2 separate regions of the Homo sapiens genome follow, and region 2 is linked to region 1. The links are contacts of gene promoters, found by promoter capture Hi-C in blood cells and fetal thymus (Javierre and others, 2016). All regions are on one chromosome and are shown on one strand. Each heading gives the region's core, a stretch centred on a gene start or on the middle of the fragment in contact. The rest is flanking DNA. Distances are from core to core; before and after follow the strand shown.

Evidence for each region. Contacts are between HindIII fragments. The CHiCAGO score rates a contact against its expected background, and 5 or more counts as called.
Region 2: a contact is called between the fragment with the promoter of LCP2 here and the fragment with the promoter of DUSP1 in region 1, in 2 of 17 cell types (activated CD4 T cells and non-activated CD4 T cells). The highest score is 7.8, in activated CD4 T cells.

Annotation. Positions count from the first base shown.
Region 1 is chr5:172,768,677-172,772,444 of GRCh38, forward strand. It overlaps DUSP1 (dual specificity phosphatase 1), which reads right to left and starts at 2,519. Exons shown (of 4, transcript NM_004417.4): 1 at 1,910-2,519; 2 at 1,485-1,630; 3 at 899-1,118; 4 at 1-456. The coding sequence starts at 2,276. The coding sequence ends at 86. It overlaps LOC105377730 (a long non-coding RNA gene), which reads left to right and starts at 3,535. Exons shown (of 3, transcript NR_188285.1): 1 at 3,535-3,768. RefSeq lists silencers at 1,867-1,976, 2,517-2,966 and enhancers at 2,006-2,767, 2,077-2,346, 2,768-3,529, 2,994-3,768, 3,530-3,768 and 1 more. The HindIII fragment of the contact is 7,766 bases long and covers 1,149-3,768 here.
Region 2 is chr5:170,296,114-170,299,542 of GRCh38, forward strand. LCP2 (lymphocyte cytosolic protein 2) reads right to left here and starts at 1,664. Exons shown (of 21, transcript NM_005565.5): 1 at 1,421-1,664. The coding sequence starts at 1,498. RefSeq lists an enhancer at 767-846. The HindIII fragment of the contact is 7,744 bases long and covers 493-3,429 here.

The sequences.
Region 1 (3,768 bases), core at 1,269-3,768:
AGCCCCTCCCAGAGTTATTGCATTTCTCCTCTCAAGGAGCATGGAGTCCCAATGGGATGTGAAGAGCCTCACCTCCCGTGGCCTTTCAGCAGCTGGGAGAGGTCGTAATGGGGCTCTGAAGGTAGCTCAGCGCACTGTTCGTGGAGTGGACAGGGATGGAGACGGGGAAGTTGAACACGGTGGTGGTGGAGGTGCCTCGGTCGAGCACAGCCATGGCGGGGCTCCCAGCCTCTGCCGAACAGTGCGGAGCCAGCACCTGGGACTCAAACTGCAGCAGCTGGCCCATGAAGCTGAAGTTGGGAGAGATGATGCTTCGCCTCTGCTTCACAAACTCAAAGGCCTCGTCCAGCTTGACTCGATTAGTCCTCATAAGGTAAGCAAGGCAGATGGTGGCTGACCGGGAAATGCCTGCCTGGCAGTGGACAAACACCCTTCCTCCAGCATTCTTGATGGAGTCTGGAAAACCAAAGGAGCGGCTGGTTACTTGAGAGTTCAGGAGAACCACCCCAAGCCCAGGTACAGTGTATCTGAGAAAGGTCATGTGTGTCTTGTCTAGAAATGGTCAACATCACCACATGCCATCACATGGATACTGTTCATGGAGGCAACGTGGGCACTGTGCAAAGGATGGCACAGGATTTAAACTCAGACTGGGGATTTCCACTTAGCAGATAGATCTCAGACCAGTCAATTCAACTTTGTGAGCCCCACTTTGCAAATCTGTAAAGTGGGACATCGAATCAAATTCATATTTTACAGGAATGTTGCCCACACCAGACTGATACTGAATGTGTGGAAGAAGGCTCAGAAAACTTCAAGCTCTTGCCACAGAGGTTGGGCTTAGTGGCTAAAATGAGAAGAGAAAGGCAGAAAAGCCCCAGGCATCCATTCCATTTACCTATGAAGTCAATGGCCTCGTTGAACCAGGAGCTGATGTCTGCCTTGTGGTTGTCCTCCACAGGGATGCTCTTGTACTGGTAGTGACCCTCAAAATGGTTGGGACAATTGGCTGAGACGTTGATCAAGGCAGTGATGCCCAAGGCATCCAGCATGTCCTTGCGGGAAGCGTGATACGCACTGCCCAGGTACAGAAAGGGCAGGATTTCCACCGGGCCACCCTGAAATCCAGAAATATCCAACATTCATCAAGCTTGCTCAAAGCCAAGGCCAGTGCCCATACCCACAAAAACTTTCTGCTGGAAAAGTCAATTTCAGATACCGAGTGAACTCAGTTCTGTTGCTGGAGGATAAATAAATAGGGAACTAAGCCCATTTGCCTGGGCAGGACCAGCAAGTTCATTTCCGTAGAGCCTACAATTGGAGACTCGGCTCCGTCAGACCACTTAACTGTGGAATAAATCATATCCCTGTGTCCCCTCCGTTATAAATAATGCTGCAGGTCACTTTCTATATTCTCCCTGGCACTACTCTTCCATGCCTTTGCCAGTTCTTACTTCTTCCCTGTGGCAGGGACACCTACTAACCTGATCGTAGAGTGGGGTACTGCAGGAACTGCACCCAGATTCCGCGCTGTCAGGGACGCTAGTACTCAGGGGAAGGCTGAGCCCCATGGGGGTCGACTGTTTGCTGCACAGCTCCGGGCAGGAAGCCGAAAACGCTTCGTATCCTCCTGGGAATACAAAGACATTTTTTTTCCCCATTAGTGACACCGGGACACGGCACCTTCATACAACTCCCCCACCCACCAAGGGCTGGAAGTTTACATCGGAAAGGCCCAGGCAAGTCTTTGTTTCCAGAGCCAAACAAAGCCAATGACAAGTTCCAGAGATAAATGTACTCCAGCGCCCACGCGCTGCAGGTGGGGCGATCCCCCGGGAGCCGAGAGCCAGGGGTACCGGGCAAAACCTCAGGGGTGTGCGGCCCGCCCCGAGCTTCCCCGAGGGCGTACCTTTGAGGAAGAAGACTTGCGCGGCGCGCGCCTCGCGGCAGAGCGCGCCGGCCGCCAGGGCCAGGGTGCCGTCGCGCTTGGCGCCGTCCAGGGCGGCGCTGCGCTCGTCCAGCAACACCACGGCGTGGTAGGCGCCGGCCAGCAGGCGGCCGCGGAGCTCGGCGTTGGGCACGATGTGCTCCAGGCCCATGGCGCCCTTGGCCCGGCGCCGCACGATGGTGCTGAAGCGCACGTTGACAGAGCCGGCGATGTGGCCGGCGTTGAAAGCGAAGAAGGAGCGGCAGTCCAGCAGCAGGCATTGCGCCGCTCGCTCCCCCAGCAGCGCCCGCAGGCCTCCAGCGTCCAGGGTGCCCACTTCCATGACCATGGCCGGCCTCAGCGCCCCCAGCGTGATCGGCCCTGCGGTGCTCTTTGTCTGTTCTCGGGGCCAAGGGCAGGGCGGCGCTTTTCGAGGAAAAGCTAGACCCCCGGGTCTCTCTGCGCCGAACCAAAAGCCGCTTTTGGACTGAGAGAGGAGCGTCACGCGGGGCTCCGGGCTCCTCGGCTTCTTCGCGGTTCCCCCGACTGCCCCTCCGACCCGCGTCGCACACACAGCCCAAATGTCCTTCGCAGCGAGCCTGGCCCGGGGAGCGCGTTTATATGCGGCCTCTGGGGGACGGGGCGGGCCAGACCCGCGCGCAGGGGGAGGGGGGGTGTTTGTTTGAATGGTGATCACGTGACGGGGCGGTGACGTCACCCGCCCTGCCAGGCCAGGCGCCGCCGAGCCAGAGGGGGAGACGTCATCAGCCTCGGAGCTGGGTCCGCTCGCCGCGCGCTGGCTCGCGGCCCGGCCCCCGCCCTGCTGTCCGGCCTGCTCTTGGCGCGTCCCCAGGGACCGGACCCGCGCCGCGCTCCAGGCCCAGCGGGGAGGAGGAGGGCTCGCTGCCAGCTGAGGCTGACCTCCGGGATGCGAGCGGCCGGGAGAACGGGCGACGTGCCACCTGCCTTGGCCTCGCCGCTCCTCCCTCTCTCCCTCCCCGAGTCCCCTTCCCCGTGCCCCTCGGCCGCCGACCTGAACCGAAAGGGGCTTCCTGTGCTTTTGCATACTCTTGTGCCCCTTTTCCTCATTTCCTCATCACTAACAGGCGGGGAAACTGAGGTTCCCCAGGCGAAGCGACTGACTTGCCCAGAACCACACTACTGGGGTGGGGGCAGCAAATAGGCGCCTAAGATGAAGTTTAGAGAAAAATGAACAACTCTGCCGATAGAAAAGTCGTCCCTACCAAGACCGACTCGAGCGAGTTGGGGCGGAGAGGTTCAGGGCAATGCTTTCCTGTTTCCCAGACTTTTCTTTAAGGTGGCTTTAAAATATCTACATTTGCCATGAAAGTGTGAGCAAGCAAACTCCCACCGGGAAATAATGCTATTCCTAGTCTTGTGGCCCCCGGAAGACTTGGAGCCAAGGGAGGCAGGTCAGGGGGCTGAAATCCCGGTGAGGGGTCGCAAGGCCCCGCAGTGGATTCCAGGGTTTGGCGTTTGGAGGGGTGAGGGGCGACCCGCAGCGCGACTCGACGGCGCCCCCCAGGGGCCGCCCGACACGTTTCTGTCACCTTGGCTCCAGACTGAGCTTCTCCATCCCTTTCTTTATTATACAAATAGGCAGTATACACAGTGAGCGCCCACTAAGCGCTGGGCTGGGGGCCTCCAACCCGGAACAGAAGCCGGCCACAACCCTCGCTCCCTGTCGTCGCGGCCGTTATAGGCCGAAAGCAAAATCCAATCCCGGGCCATTGTGGGCGGATTGCCAGGACCTGGATCGCAACACTTGGGAAGACCCCCGCCCCGCCCAGCGATCTCCGTGCCCTGAGTCCCAGTGACGG
Region 2 (3,429 bases), core at 414-2,913, 2.5 Mb before region 1:
CAAGGTAACATGCCACTTTATTCCCTCTTGGCAAATTTTACCTTGTTGCCCTATCTTATTTGGTCTATATTTGAGCAAGATATTTAGAAACATCCTTCAAAAAACCAGTTGCGCAACAATATTTGCTGAAATCTAAGTTTATTATGACCTTGCAGAAGGAAAATAACAGAAATGAAAGCACAAAATATGGCAAAAAACAGGATCTGTGAACTGTACCCCTACCATACCACACCTAGTTCAACATGTTCTCATTTTCTTCTTCAGGTTGGGGGAGAACAGCTGTGACTATAAATGCCTCGGAAATGCATAGACCCCAGGTTTGGCTATACGTCCTAGGGAACCTCGTCTACCCTCTTGAATCTCAATTTCCCCAGGAAAAACACGAAGCTGAATTAGATGACTTCTACCATCTTAGCTTTACAATCTCATCTTTATGACAGTCTGGAATATCAACAGAATCCGATGCCAGCCTGCAGGGATGAGGGTGTTAGAAGCTTAACCGTCTCGCACAAGTCATCTTACCACATGGTCAGGGTAGAGGGACTATAACTAAGTCATGTGGCTTGAGATCTGCCCAAGCAGATGCGTTGTCCCCTTCTGCCAATGACCAAGCACAGGGATCCTTCAACCTTTCCTCTAAGTCCAGAAGATAAGACAGCAACGCTCTGGTCCCAGCACCGCCACAAGCCTCTTTTCCTCTAGGGGCCTCAGTTTTCATAGCTATAAATTGGGGCTCACATCAGTTTTCTGTCCTGCTTCACAAGACTCTCATAAGGCTCCAAGGAGACTGCCCCAGGCGGGAGCTTGAGGACCCCCCTTAGGGTCGTGAGCAGTGAAAGCCCAAATGCTGTGTCTGGCACTGCTCATCATAGTCCTCTATCCAGCCCTCCCACCCTGCCTATTCTTTCTCCTGCCTCCAGGACACCACGTCTCCCCTTTCTAGTAAGTAGCGTTGATCTCATTAGCAGTTACAACAGTTCTCTGCATCTCAGAGCATGGACTTTAAAACCAGATAGGTGTGGCTTGAGTCTTGCCTCTATCACATGTAGTCCCTAGGGCTTCGGACCATTTCACTTCCCTGAGCTGATTTTGCAGCTGAGTCAAGGGGATAACAATGCTGACCTCACAACATAGTAGGGAGCGCTAAATGGGACAGTGCCTGTGAGACACCGAATTCAAACCCTAGCACATAATAGGCACATACTCATTTGAGGGCTTCTGCTCCCATCCTTCTCTCCGGAACTCATGGTCAGGAAAACTCAGCGGTCTATATGGCGCTCACTCAACCAGTAAAGTTGCCATAGGGTTCCATTGCTATCTTATACACCTCCCACATTCTGCCCCAATTCCATCGTCAAGCCTCAGCTCAGCCCACCAAGGGCACTAGCATCATGACCATTCACACAAGAGCAAGGCTTACCTTCTTGAAATAGTCAGCAAGGCTGTCGGGGTCCCAGCCCAGGACCTCTGAGCGAAAGGGCACATTCCTCAGTGCCATGGCTGCTCTCCCGGGAAGAAGCTCACAAGCTGAGCATGGGCGCTTCACCCATGGGCAGAGAAGCTCAAATCCAGAGCTCGGAGGCGTTCTTGGCTCTTCCAACTCCCAGCTACCCTGTGGAACACCCCTGTTGGAGCCGATGTCTTTTCTGGCGTAGCCAGATCCCAGAAAGCAACGGCTTCCTCTGCGAACAAATATGGTCTCTTCTCAGAAAACGACTCAGCTAGTTTCCTTTACCACTTCCTCTGCTGGGCTCTAAATAAGTAAACAAGGAAGCCCAGCTCTGGAGGCTTGAGATGCAGAGAGAGCCACAGGGTTGGTAATTCCCCACTGGCTCCAGTCACCCCAACCCAGTAGGAGAGGCAATGAAGGGGTCTTAAACTCCAATGTGAGTCTGAGTAATTTTCCTTTAAACTCTGGGCACCCATATGTCTACACTGCATTCTTGCTCAGCTGGGGCTTTGCAGACCAAAATCTATCCTGACGGTTGACCTGAAATACAGACAATTTCCCACATCAGTGAACTGCTGGAGCATGTTTTTTTAATGCTTTCCAACCACTTTCCCCTCCCACCATCAAAGACTGGGATTCTTTCAGCTGCCTCTTTACAGTTGTCATGAGAGGGTCCTCAAGGAGTGAGTGAGTCAGGCACCCAGGGCTGAACAAGGTGCTACACTGTGCAGACAGGGCTCAGTTTCTGATATGACTATTTCTGTGCTATGCAACCTTAGGCAAGGAGTTAAAAGCTGGGAATCTCAGTTTCCAAATCTGTATAATAGGAAAACAGTGATTCTTCATATGCACATAAAACTTAGATGCATTCAACTAGACAAACCTAAAAAGAAAAATTAAAAAGAAAAAAAACTTAACAATTGCTATTGGTAGTGTCATATATTCCATTCACTATTGTTTCCACAATATATTTTATTCACTATTGATTCTGCCATATATTCTAGCCAAAGAGCACATTCCCTGGAGATAGGAGGTGAGAATTTGCTGTTTTCTTAGTTTCAGACATTGTTCATTTCTCATAACTGAACAACTTATTGGCAGAGGGTGAGTCCAGTGTATAAAAGCAACTATATTTGTGCAATAAGGCAACCTCTAAACACAAGTTACTACTTCATCTAATGCCACACACACACACACACACACACACACACACACACGAGTCATCTGTTCCAAGGCTGTTGCCTTTACTAAGTGATGCTATGTTGGTCCTTGAGGTGGTGCCTTCCTGAGGGTTTTCAAGCATAGCTTTGGCCATGCACAGTTTTCTTCTTATACACACTCTGAGGAGCCCCGCCGTCACGGTAATGCACCTGCCTCACAAGCTGGTGGGCAGCTTAAATGAAATACACATTTTGCTCCAGGCCCAGCACTAGCTCATCAATGTGAGCTGGTGTTAGCCTCACCTTAGAAGGTGCTGAGGGCATCAGTGAAGGTAGCCCAGGCCATTTGCTCCTTGCAGGGCCTCACACCTAAGAACTCTTTTCTTTTCTCTCTTTCTTTCTTTCTTTCTTTTTTTTTTTTTTTTTTTATTGAGACGGAGTTTCGCTCTTGTTGCCCGGGCTGGAGTGCAATGGTGCCATCTCGGCTCACTGCAACCTCCGCTGCCTCCCAGGTTCAAGCGATTCTCTTTCCTCAGCCTCCCGAGTAGCTGGGATTACAGGCATGCACCACCACGCCCAGCTAATTTTGTATTTTTAGTAAAGACGGGGTTTATCCCTGTTGGCCAGGCTGGCCTGGAACTCCCAACCTCAGGTGATCTGCCCGCCTAGGCCTTCCAAAGTGTTGGGATTACAGGCGTGAGCCATTGTGCCTGGGCCGCACCTAAGAGCTCTTTGTAGCTGATCATTCTGTATAAAGCACAGCTCTGCTGTACAAAAGCTCCATCACGGGTGAGAGGTCACCTGGTCTTTCAAATCACT